Linked DNA regions of Homo sapiens: region 2 is linked to region 1. Evidence: promoter capture Hi-C in 16 types of primary human blood cells and fetal thymus (Javierre and others, 2016). All regions are on one chromosome and are shown on one strand. Each heading gives the region's core, a stretch centred on a gene start or on the middle of the fragment in contact. The rest is flanking DNA. Distances are from core to core; before and after follow the strand shown.

Region 1 (6,479 bases), core at 1,999-4,498:
TCTTCTGGAGGGTGGTGTTGTGTTCTTTTTCCATACCTTCTTATTTTTAATTCTCCACACTGCAAGCCATTTAGTTAGATCAACCAAAGTCAATGAGAGAGGGAGGCCCAAGTACCTGAGAGTGGAGTTGGGTAACCATCCAGCCCTGAAAGTAAACCCAGGCCCTCCAGCTCAGGGTCTAAAGGAAATCAGGCAATGAGACCAACGGTAAGAAGTGGAATTTGTTCCTCATTTTCATTTGTTTTCGTAGGACTCTGCAGCTGAGTTTATCTGCTGCAGTTTGGCACTTCTTGCCCTAAGCTTTTTGAGACAAAGATTGCGAAGGAAGGAGATGAGGACAAGGGAATGAGGAGGCCCAGGAGGTGGAGCCAAAGGGATAAGAAAAAGAGGCCCCAGGCCCCTGTGTGTTTTATCAGCCGAACAGAAATGCTGCTGAAGACATGCATCTGCAAAGGTGGTGCCAACTGGGTTGGGTCTACAAGTGCGGAGCACTGGGGACCACTGAATTAGTCAGAGGTCCCCAAGCCTGCTCCTCCTCTGTCGCCATATGGCAGAGATTCAAAGGGTGGAGTCCTCTCCCCTCTGGAAAATAGCTGATAAAATTCTTTTCCCTTTTATTTTTCCCCTCTTACATGTAGCCCTGGACAGGATATGGGTGTGGGGTCAGCAGGCACGAAGGACCCAAAGGAAGAAGAGGAATGTGACGGGGAGGGCCTGGGGGTGTTGTTAGAGTGAGGATAGGGACAGGCCTTGGAAAGCTTGGAGGAAATAGATACCCTGAGCCTGACAAAGGGGTTCCCTAATTACCTGAAAGGCTTCCTGCTCCAGCCAGCACTCTGGCAGTGCTGCCTGGTGGCCCTTGAGCCCCTTACCCTGACTCTGCTCTGTGATCTCCCCCACTTCCAACAAAGACAGCCCACTTCTGGTTAGTTGCAGTGCCTATGCACATGCCACCTTCTCAAAGGGACAGAAAAAAAGAACTTCCCAAAACAAGCTCTTTGTTGGGGTAAATGATGAGAAAACAAACCACAGAAATCCCCTCTACCCTAAATTTTACAATAATAATAGCATTTCTGCAATGGCCCTATGGTAGCATTTCAAGGTACACTCAGTTATCTCATTTATCCCACAATGTATCCCAGGACTGAAAATGACTCCTAGTATTAACAAAACAAAACAAATCCAAGCAAAAACCCTAGAAAGCTCTTGGGAAGGGCATAAAACTACAATTGGCTCAAGTAGTCTGGCAAGGCTGGGAATGGGGCCTTGTGCCTCATCCCTCCCCACCAAAAGCTGGGATATTCTCAGCATATCAGTCCAAAGTTTTGCCAAGGTTGTGTTGCTCCCCCAACCCCAACCTCGGCAGGCCAAGGCGAGACTGGCACTTACCAGCTGAGGAAATAAGAAAAGGGTGGACCTCATTCGGCTGAGGACCAGGTCATCACAAGCTGTGTAGCCAAAGGAGAATGGAGCATCTGATTGGAATCTGCACCACTGGCCAACTCACCCCTGTTTTTTTGTTTTTTGTTTTTTGTTTGTTTGTTTGTTTTGAGAAGGAGTCTCGCTCTGTCTCCCAGGCTGGAGTGCAGTGCCAGGATCTTGGCTCGCTGCAACCTCCGCCTCCTGGGTTCAAGGGATTCTCCTGCCTCAGCCTCCCGAGTAGCTGGGACTATAGGGGTGTGCCACCATGCCCAGCTAATTTTTGTAATTTTAGTAGAGATGGGGTTTCACCATGTTGGCCAGGATGGTCTCGATCTCTTGACCTCATGATCTGCCTGCCTCGGCCTCCCAAAGTGCTGGGATTGCAAGCGTGAGCCACTGCGCCCGGCCGACTCACTCCTGTTATGAGGGCCTAGTCTAGCACCCACTCTAGAATTTTGAAACCTCATTGATAGCTTTTCCTTGCCCCAAAGCACACATCCAGGACTGCCAAACAGGGCAACCCAAAACTTCTCTCAGAGCTTCCTCCAGCCCAGGGGCAGCTGTCCCCAGCTGGGCGGACCCAAAGATGGACAACAGAGGAGACTGGGAACAAAGAGGTCTAGTCCAGGTCACTCTGCAGGGCCACAGTGGGTGGCCCTTAGGATGTAGTGAGAGTACAGAATTGGGAGCCCTAGAGTGCTGTAAGCAAAAGGGAGAGCAATGTACAAAGTTTCAAAAGTTTCAAACCTTCCAAGTGCAAAGAGATGAGGTGGAGAATGTCATTCCCCAAGGAAAGTAATCGAGTATAAATATTTACCGGGTGCCTATTTTTTTTTTAACCGAAGTGAGAGCAAGACCTTAAGAGTAAGGATATGTGTAGGTGAGTGGGGGCAGTGTTCTAACCCATCCACTAGCTTTAGAACTTGGAGCAGGGGCAGAGGAAGAAAACTCCAAAAGGTGACAAGTTTTGAAATTTGTGCAGGGGTGACGGTTTTTGGTAAGGCGAGCGAGGCTGGGCGCAGAGCAAATTCTGTCTACTTCTACCTCCTCCGCGGTGGGGTTGCTGAAGTGGGAATTCAAACTCAGCTTCCCAATCTTAAATGCAAGGTTTTTGTTTGGTTGGTTGTTTGGTTTTGTTTTTCCTTTTCACGGACTGTTCATTCCGAACACCCCTGGCCTGGGACCTGGAGCCTCATCCCTGATTCGCTTCCCTCGAATTCCTTAATGTCCACTTCTGGCTCTCCCAGTCCCTGTGCAAGGTGGGCACACCGGCCCCTTCCCAGCAATCCGCTCCGTGTCTATACTTTCTGAATCAACCAAGAGCCACAAAACTTTTCCTGCTTCTCTCCTCCCCAGTCTCCCGGTTCTGGCTGCAACTTCGCACTCCGCGCCTCTGGCAACCAGAAGAGACCCTGGCATCTCCAAAGCGCTTTATCTCAGTCCATTGGAACCAGTCGTGCTGACCGATTCACACCTCGGCTAACGCACACTCGCGGGGGTGATGGCCTTCCCTTCCCCTCCCACCCCCGTCAGCTCCCAGGTGAGGCGCTGGCCCCGGGGGGAAGCAGCTGTGGGCGGCAGTGCGTGGGTTGGGCAGGGGTCCCTTCCCTCCGTGAGACTCTGCTCTGCTGTTCAGCCTCCCAGAAAGCCTCCACCCTCCCCGCGGCGAAGCCAAGCGGCCGCGGCGCGCGGGCGGTACTCACGCAGCAAACTCAGCAAGCAAAGCGCGGTCCAGCCCCGCGGCATCCTGGGCCCTGCGCGCGCGCCCCTGCGGACCAGCATCCTTCCCGCGCGGCTCCTAGAGAGACGCACCGAGTGGAAGACACTACTCGGCTTGGCCAGGACGCGCTCTTCCCGCCCCCTCCGCCCGGGAGAGGGGTGGGGGATTCTTGCTTTTTTCCTCTCTTCTCCCCTCCCTTTTTAGTCTTGGCAAGGCAGCGCCTCTCCTTGGCTGCTACTAACTTGAGCTCCCCTGGTTGGTCCCAAAGGCGGAGGGCGTTAGGAGGGAGGCTGGGTTGCCGCCGTCGAGGCCAAAAAAGGTGGAGGTTTGTTCGGGCTCCAGATGCCTCGTTCAGCTTTCTGGAGAGGCCCCATCCCACTTCTTCAAGCTCCACTTCCACTTAACTTTTAACCCCTTTGTGGCAGCCTTGCCGGTGGCCAGGGCAGGGGCAAGTTTCCTCCGATTTTTTCCCCACTTTTCTTTCCTTGTGATTTTCCTTTATTTTTAAGTTGTAAGCCAGTAACAATCTTGCAAAAGGAATCTACTGTAAGGACCTCAGTTTAGAAGTGTGAGCATTTCGTTAATCAGGTAAAACTTAACCACAATGTGGCACATTTAGTGATAGCCTCACCAGATCCTGTGCTGTGTGTGAGTGAAGCGTCAGGAGTGAGCAGGTATACGTGACTATAAGTATTCATTTTGGCTGTCCAAACCATTCTTGGAGACTTTTTCTTTCTTTTCTTTTCTTTTTTTTTTCCTGCAAGACCTTTTTGTGTTATGTTAACTTTTTGCTAACTTGTGTTAACTTTTCCTGTGACCTTCCATATTTCCCCATTTAGTTCCCCATCACCATCATCCTAAAGAAAAAGGACTTCCCTGGATGCCTTCTCACCAGTTATCCCCTCTCCAGCCCTGGGTCTAAGCCACTAGGGATTTCACCTTGCTCTCCCATCAGAAAAAGGACTTTCTGTGACTCCATCCTCCACCACTTGATAGATCCTTGAGCTTCCTGTTCCTCACCAGTTCCTCTGGGTGTTGGTTGTACTGAATAGAAGAAACTCTGAGCCGGGTAGGCAGCCTAGTCTTGGGGACGTAGAGACGGGAGAAAGGAGAAGCCAGCCTGGGCAGATGATGGCACCAGGGGAGGATCAGATAAGGTATAACCTGGGAGAGGCTGCTCTGATATCCAGAGCAGAATCATGAAATTATAAATACTCAGTTCAGGCTCTTCCATGATGTCTGTACCACATAGCCTAAAGGGAAAAAAGAGAAGCCAGACCAGCACTCTGTGGTCCTTTCTGATTTCTCCGCAGACACTCTAGCATTATAAAAGTAGCTTTACCTTTATAGTCCATCTCAAACCTACTATGCGTTGGGGTTGCACAGGAGAAGGATCCAGGTCTAAAAACAAACCCAAAATCTCCTTATTCTGGTCTTGTTGCCTAGCATTCCTTTAAACAGGGAACAAAGTCTTTCATCACACAATAAGAGCAAAGGCCTGATATGCTAATTTGATTGAATACAACGGAATGGTATGAATCTGTTTCAAAGTACAAATGATGATTCAGAACTGATCACATAGTGATGGCAAGGGCCTGGGGACAGAAGGAGTGGCAAACATGCATTTTAAAATCAGTCATTGGTCCTTGGGACTCCCAATTAACAGGGAAAAGGAGTTAGTTCCAACACTGCCAGGCCCCCCACTCCCCTCAACTTCCTCAGCTCCAGGGACCGCTCGGTCTGCTTCAGGCATCCAGTGTGCAGTTGAGAACAAATGTGGGGTTGTAATCCCTGCTAGATATGAAAGCTAATTTGGTCCACTTTAACTTCCATTTCCAGATTTTTTTTTTCTGGTTACTTTAAATACCATTTGTCTCCCATAGCTGGACCACGGGAAACAGGGGAAATAACTTGTCTTTCTTTAGTACCTGAACTTCTTAACTAGCTTTGGGAGCAAAGAGAGAGAGAATGATTCTGTGGAGCAGAGTTTTCTCAAAGCATGGTCTACACAGAATCAAGGGTGAGGGCCAGAATCTGTACTTTGAGTAAGTATTCTCCATGACTCATGCACACTGAGGTTCAAGAAGCCCTGGTATAGAAAGAACACTTGCTGGGTACAAGGAGCAAGGGCGAAGTGGATGTCAGGCTTCAGGGAGGAAAAATAGAAGTAGGGGATATGGGAGGCTGGCAAATCCCTTCCTCTGAGAGACCAGAGCTGTTTCTTCTCTGGCTTGCAAAGGTTATGGATAGCCCCAGAACTACAAAGCTAGACAGTGATTGGCCACTCTTCATATTTTCCAGGGTCACTGAGACTCATCACCCCAAGCACACACACCCTTGCCCAAGCCACCCCCAAACACACGTTCTGGCCACTGGACACAAGGGTACCCAGGGACCCCAGCCTTACATTTCCTCACAGGCCAGGTAGAGTTGAGCTATGTAGTCTCTTCAAAGTTCTAGCCTTTCTGGGCTGCTCCTCAATTCTCTGCTCTCCTGCTTCATAAGCTGTTGCTAGAAGATGTTAGCTACACCGCACAAAATGGAGGATACAACAGAAATACACTGAGTCAGAGGCTGTCTCAGGCCCTTTACAGACCCTTGGAGGTCACAACCACTTTTACTATTAAACATCCCTTACCTCACCCCTCCCCAAAATACACACGCATCATGTCAATCAACCTAAAAGAGGACCTCATCCTATGTCAAATATGTCTGATGTTAAAAAAGTAAGGAAAATGGTTGTTATAATTCTGAATTTTAAAATATATTCATTTTGTTCTTATAATTCAAACTTTATTATATTTACATGAAACTATGAAAGAGTTGAATTGCAGTTTACAAGTTGAGTTGACATTTTTGTAGGCATTTAATGAAAAATTTGTGAATTTTGATTTTCCAATTTTATATTTTGGAACCAAGACTTTTTTCCCACATTGCAAACTTTTTTTTTTTTTTTTTTTTCAGTTTGGCAGGGATCCTTAGCGGTAGAAGTGTTCAGATGCTGGACTGATGCAGTGACAACCTGCAAGTCCCTTTTTTCCTCTTTCCACCTTCTAGTCTCCCTCCAGTGCCTCCTCTTGGCAGAACCTAACAAGAAATCAGCTGACAAGGGAGTCTGGGAACCAGTGTCCTGTGGTAAGTCACCATGATGCAATGTTTGCCTCCATGATAGGCAGGCTATTCCAGAGGCCACAGATCAGGAAGACTCAGACCAAATTATGATGATCAAATCACAAGGGTTATGGAATCTATTTAAAGCATAGAGCCAGAACCAAGGGGACAGATTTACACAAGGTTGATACACTTGGGAATGCAAGCAGGGCAAAAGTCCTGCACA
Region 2 (6,479 bases), core at 2,926-5,425, 40 kb after region 1:
CATAGCTTTACTCCCCTGGTCCTAAGGATTACCTTAGGACCTTACCTTAAGGAGAAGCCTCGAGCCCTTCTCCCATAATCACAGCGGTTTCTACCCTGGCTAGTTGTGCCTATTAAAGATTTTTATATGCTCTAGGTTACTGAAGTTTGAGTAAGGCAGTCTCTACAGGAAGCAAAATTAAGGATTTTCCAATATTTTGCATTTGGGGAGGATACCTCATCCCACCTTAAAATTGGTAAGTGTACTATTCAACTTTTGAATACTGGACTTCTAAACATTGTCAGGATACAGTGTTATCATAAATGAGGAAAAGGAAGTTTTAAGAGTAAACATCGGTATTTATTGAGAGCTTACCATATCCTAAATATCTCATTAATCCTCAAAGCAAAATTTATTGAGGTTGCTTTTATCTCCAGTTTGGGGATGATGAACCAGAGGCAGCAAGAAGATAAATAACTTTCCCAAGGACATACAACTATAAAGGGTGGAGTGAAGATTCAAACCTAGGCAGTCTGACTCTAGATTTGAGTTCTTTGCTCTTACACACATGTGTGACATGTATCTATATAAAATATCCCTAGCTTGGTGAAGTAGGAATAATAGTTTAATTATATGCTAGGCTCATGCCTATAATCCTAGCATTTTGGGAGGCCGAGGTGGGTGGAACGCTTGAGCCCAGGAGTTCGAGACCAGCCTGGGCAACATGGCGAAACCCTGTCTCTACAAAAATTACAAAAATTAGTAGGGCGTGGTGGCATGCACTGGTAGCCCCAGCTACTCGGGAGGCTGAGGAGGGAGGATCACTTGAGCCTGGGAGGTCACGGCTGCAGTGGACAGTGATCGTGGCACTGTGCTCCAGCCTGGACAACAGAGTGAGACTCTATCTGAAAACAAACAAACAAAATCCCTATTATTATTATTATTTTTACTTTTAAGCCTTTCTGAAAAGAAATCTTAAATATCTATACAGTGCTTTACTTACGTTTGCTTATAATGCTGATCCAATATTTTTGTTGTTGTTGCTATTGTTTAATTAATTTAACTTTCTTCAATTGAGGTTTAAAAATTGTCCTGTCTCCTACTTTAGAAAGGACTCAAGATTAAGACATAGGGCAAGATAAGATAATTAACAGTAAAGTTCTGCAGACTACATCTGAAGGAACAAGAGAGAGTGGCAATGAGGCGCTGAAATCAAACTGATTGGCACACGTGGGCAATAAACTGACTGTAAGCTTTCTGGCAGCCAAAGCAAAAACTAAACATGTTGGATTGCATAGTTTTTGTTTCCTGACAATAAGATGGATAAAATTCAGCTGCAGACAACTTAAGTAGGAATTGATTGCATGAGGCTTTAATAAAGGGAATTCAACAACAACATGGAAAATATTTAACCCAGGTTTTTATGAGACACAGAAGAGTCATTCAGATACTTGGTTGTCATATTGTTCTTAAATAAGAGCAGATGCCCTTACATACTAACTTGATACTTGTTAAATCGTCTCTCTAAGGCTGTAAAAACATAATGCTGTGTTTTTTTTTAAGACCTAAAATCATGATTAGAACTTGGAGATTCTCTGATGGGTAATTTATGTGCAATTCTCTCAAATACCAGATTCTTTAACAATCACTGGTCGCATGCTAAATACCTGTAAATAATGAGCAAATCCTCTAAACAATACAGATTTTTCCGGTGTTTATGAGAGCTGTAAGCTTTAGATGTAAGATAGCAAAGAAATAAATATGTCATTGTGTGTTGGAATGTTAAGACCTCAACTTGTAATCCTGACCAGACAGACTGACCACTTCAGGTCCTACACCCATGTGATATGTATCTATATAAAACATCCCTAGCAGGGTGAAGTAGGAATAATAGTTTAATTATATGCTAGGCACTGTTTGAAAATATTATCCACATTTTTCAGATGAGATAACAGAGGCTTAGAAAATTAGAAAGTTAAAGGTCCTATGCAAGCAGCCTGACTTCAATGCCACTGTTCTTCCCAGAGCACAATACTGATACCCAGAGAGGCCTAAGAATTCTAGTCCAAACTACTTGGGAAAATGTGACTTTAGTCTGACAAGTCATTGGGTTTGATGTTCCCACCTGTGTACACCTTCTCAAAGAGAACTTCTCTATTGTTCTGTTGGTGTTTTTCTGAAGAAGGCATCTATTAGATGCCACAAATAAGTAAAAGGGTGAAAAAGTAACTTAAATAGCAGAATAATTCAATTTAACTAGTTGCAGAAGATTGTCTGAAACTGCCCTTTTAAATGTGGGTGAATGATTACTTGTTTCTATGATTTAATTATGGCATAATTAACATTATTAATGTTCCTTCTGGCAATAGCTGAACTACAAATTCAATTGCTCCTTAAGACCTCTCTTGACAAAGACAATAAAACAATGCTCCTGGTTCAAAGGAGAAAGGCTGGCCTTCCTGTTTCCTATGGCAGAGACACATGCACCAGCAAAATTAGTTTTCTTAGTACTAGAAAGATTTAAAAAGAAGCAGTGCTAGGTCAATGCCCCATGCAAGGCCATTTAAAGTTGGTTCTGTATCTGCTATGAGAATCTGACTAGTCTAACATTGCTGGTTTGTAGAGTTGCTAAAGAAACAGGAGGCTAGCCTGGGTCTGTATTATGTATTAAATGATGTTATGTTACCAGGTGCCCTTGATGATTTCACAATGTGGAGGAAATGTATTCTTTAATAGAGCTTTGTTTCTATACAAAGCACTTTGTAGTAGTAGCAGTAGGAATAGAAAAGTGGGTGTAGATAGGAAGTCAAATTACTGGACTGAGGGACCATAATGATTGGGGGCTACGGAAAGAAACAAAAAGGACAGGGATTTTAAAATTCAGCAGCTCGGGTGATGCCGTAATCAGCAGCAGTAGGAAAGGTAAGAACCAGGTAGGTTTGGATGGTAGAGGGTAAGGAAACTTGTATATAAATCTATTTGAAAGTGGATGGTTGGGTTCAGCAAAGGTCCTAAAAAATTAACAGACACCCTGCCTTCCTTGTTTGGGACCTATGCCGTCCGTTACTATTCCCTATTAATATTGACACAATATCAAGAGTTCCCTAACAGTCTGATAAAGGTCTGAAGGAGGCAAAAGAGCTGACACTGCCATCTCAAAACCTGATCCAATTTATAGAACCAATACCAGGTTATCCATCCATCTATTCTTCCATCCATTCAGGTTCATTCATACTCAACTAACAGGTGTTTATATGAGCCAGGCACTGCAGGCTAGATACTGGGGATGAAATGGCTAATAGTGCAAGTTGCTTATAGTCTTATTGGAGAGACACATGAAAATGGGCAGTAACACCAGTATGCAATGATGGGGAATAGAAGACAGAGCATTATGCAAGCACATAGGAGCATCTAACTCAGCTCAGGTAAGTCAGAGAAACCTGCCTGGAAGAGGTGATGTCCAAGTGAAGACCCAAAGGATGGAGAAGGGATGGTCAGGTGAAGTGGTGAGGTAGGAGCCTTCCAGGCAGAGCTGTAAGCAGTCAGCAAGGTTGGAGCATAAAGGGTGAAGTGAGGTGTAGTGATAGTTTGGATGAAAGAAGTAAACAGGCAAGATCGTAAAGCACCTTGCCTTATTCAACTGTTTGGACTTGATTCTAAGAGCAGTGTGTGCTGTTTACTAAAGGATTAGATCCATATCTCTCCCTTAAGTTGGAGGGATGGTGTGGGCTTGGGTAGAGCTTCGAGTACTTTGTTGTCTTATGATCATCTGGGGCTAGAGTCAGAGCATCAAGACCTTTGGATCATGTCAGTGGGAGCATCTTAGGAACTCAGAGTCAAGGGTGATAGGAAATTTGGCCCCAGCATCATTTGGCACTCTACTGTCTGACTCCCTCTACCTTCCACTACCACTTGAGCATGCTTATCAAGGGATAACAATACCTACCTGTCTTTTGTAAGCACTTGCTTTGTACCAGACACAATGTAAGCATTTTACAGCTTCTTCTTGACAACTCTGTGTTGTAGGTATTATTATATCCATCTTACAGATGAGGCAACTAGGCTCAAAAACTTTGAGTACCTTGCCCCAGGTGACATGGTAGTAAGTGATAGAGGGAAGATCTGAACCCAAGCAAACTGATCCTAGAGCTCACGTTAATCACTGCAGGAAATATAAAAATGCAAGTAGCGTTCATTTCTTTAATTTGGATGTTATATTGCAGGGAAAGAGTCTGAGATAGAACTACATGATTTTTTTGTGGTTTTATAAATATAACCACATGTTTTATATGTGTAGAACATTAAATATGCCATTTAACAATTTTTAAGTGCAAAATTTAGTGGCATTAATGACATTCATACTGTTGTGCAGCTATCGCCACTATATGTCTCCAAAACTTTTCCATCAGCCCAAACAGAAACTTGGTACCCATTAAGCAATAACTCCCTATTCTTCCTTCCCTAGCTCATGGTAAACTCTACTTTCTGTCTCTATGAATTTGCCTACTCTAGATATCTCATGTAAATGGAATTGCACAATATTTATCCTTCTGTGTTTGGCTTCTTTGCCTGGAACAATGTCATTAAGGTTTATTCGTGTGGTAGCATGTATCAGAACTTCCTTTATGTCTGAAACAGACTTCATTGTATGCACATACCACATTTTGTTTATTCACTCATCTGTTGATGGACACGGGTATTTTCCACATTTTGGCTATTGTAAATAATGCTGTAATGAACACTGGTGTACACATATCTGCTTGAGTCCCTGCTTTCAAGTCTTTTGCGTAACTGCCTAGGAGTGGAATTGCTGGGTTATATGGCGATTCTGTGTGTAGCTTTTTGAGGAATCACCAAACTGAATATTGGCAAAACCACAAAACTTTAAAGATGGAAAGAATCCTGGAGAGAATTTTGTTAGCTCCTTTACTATACAACTGGGGAGATAATTAATTTTTAAATTAATTATCATTTTTTGAGCTTTGACTATATATGGTAGCCATTTAATATACATTATCCTATTTAATCCTCTCCAAAAGCCTATGGTGTGTTCATTATCTTAGTTTTATAGATCAAGAAACTGAAGCTCAGAGAGGCTAGATAACATGCCCAGCATCTCCCAAATGGCAAATGGAGGAGCAGAGCTTTGTACTCAAGCCTGTCCCTATTGTCAAGTTAACTGAAGACCCTAAACGTGGATCTGCTCATGTTGGAAATGGTTCTTAGTTTTGTCCATCTGTAGATGGAGTACAAAACGTTGTGTACTTGTGAAAATGTTTAATTAGTTCTTTAACTATATTTGGCATTTTACTTTTTTTATTTGTGGGTTTTTTTTTTTCATATTACCTGGGTTCACATTTTTAAAATGCACCTTCATTGTCAGTGAATGATGGAAGACGCAGGAAACAAAACACTTTGTTGTTATTGGGTGTTGGTGCTGGTTTTCTCTTTTTTGAATTTTCTCCAAAGTATTTCTCTGTATAGCTACTGTAATCTGATGCTCAGTAAACATCCTCTTAATTGGAATGCTGTTGGTAGTTGGGAGAACTCATCTGACTTTTACATCTTTTTGTCCTCCTTGGGTGTGCTTATCATTCACCTCTTGTCTAATTTTCTTTGTTATTTTATAGATTGAATTTTCAAATGCTGCTTCATAGTGATGACAGCCTTTCTTTCCAAGGATTCCTTTCCTGTTTAAGACGTTTCACACACCATTGTTTAAGCACAAGCACATTTAATCTTGAGCCATTGATAACATCTCCTGCAAGACTTCTGCTTCTCCTCTGCTTTATGGGTGTTTGATTCCATTCATTCGTTTTGTGTAATGTCCTTATTACATAATGTATTCTGTTGTGGCTTCCTTTTTTCTTTTGCTCTCTAAGCAATTTAATTGGCCATTTGGGGGGTCATATTACTTTTTTTCTGCTTAGGATTTTAAACTCTATTCTTGATGAGGCTGAGAATTAGTCTAGCATGTTTCTCAGTCTGCTTTTTCATTTTTACTTGCATAATGAAAGCACACTCAAGAGGAGAACTAGCCCTTGCAGCTATTCCCCATTGCCTTCTCTAAGGGGCTCTACTTACTAATTTTTTCCTCTCTGTCGGGTTTCTAGGTTTTCAAACTGGGACTTTCACTGCCTCTGGCTCACCTGCTGCCCTGAGCATCTTGCTGGTTATTCTGTCTGAATAAAAATAGTAGCTCACATTTATTTATTAATATATACAGGTGTCTATTTTATAAAGCACATTGAAATACATTATCTGACTTGAGTCTGACTTAAATACAGTAAGTAAACATTATTATCTCTATCTTATAGATGAGGAACTAAGATGTAAGGAGGTGAAGTCATTTTCCCAAAACCAGACAAACTAAGTGGCAGATGCAGGATGTAGACCTTATATTTTTCTAATATTTTCTTATTTTTTTTTAACACTTGGGTGTAGTCAAATTCTTTCTGGTTCCTAGTAATCAGATAGTGAGTTTTCAAAAAAAAAATGTA

Evidence for each region. Contacts are between HindIII fragments. The CHiCAGO score rates a contact against its expected background, and 5 or more counts as called.
Region 2: a contact is called between a fragment that was not itself captured here and the fragment with the promoter of CD34 in region 1, in 3 of 17 cell types (M1 macrophages, naive B cells and megakaryocytes). The highest score is 5.2, in M1 macrophages.

The regions. Positions count from the first base shown.
Region 1 is chr1:207,907,877-207,914,355 of GRCh38, forward strand. It overlaps CD34 (CD34 molecule), which reads right to left and starts at 3,249. Exons shown (of 8, transcript NM_001025109.2): 1 at 3,126-3,249. The coding sequence starts at 3,204. It overlaps LOC107985253 (a long non-coding RNA gene), which reads left to right and starts at 2,492. Exons shown (of 4, transcript XR_001738424.2): 1 at 2,492-2,681; 2 at 2,779-2,962; 3 at 6,107-6,277. The HindIII fragment of the contact is 7,449 bases long and covers 757-6,479 here.
Region 2 is chr1:207,947,309-207,953,787 of GRCh38, forward strand. No RefSeq gene overlaps it. Among named protein-coding and RNA genes, the nearest start is that of LINC02767, 8.4 kb to the right of the region's middle. The HindIII fragment of the contact is 4,934 bases long and covers 1,709-6,479 here.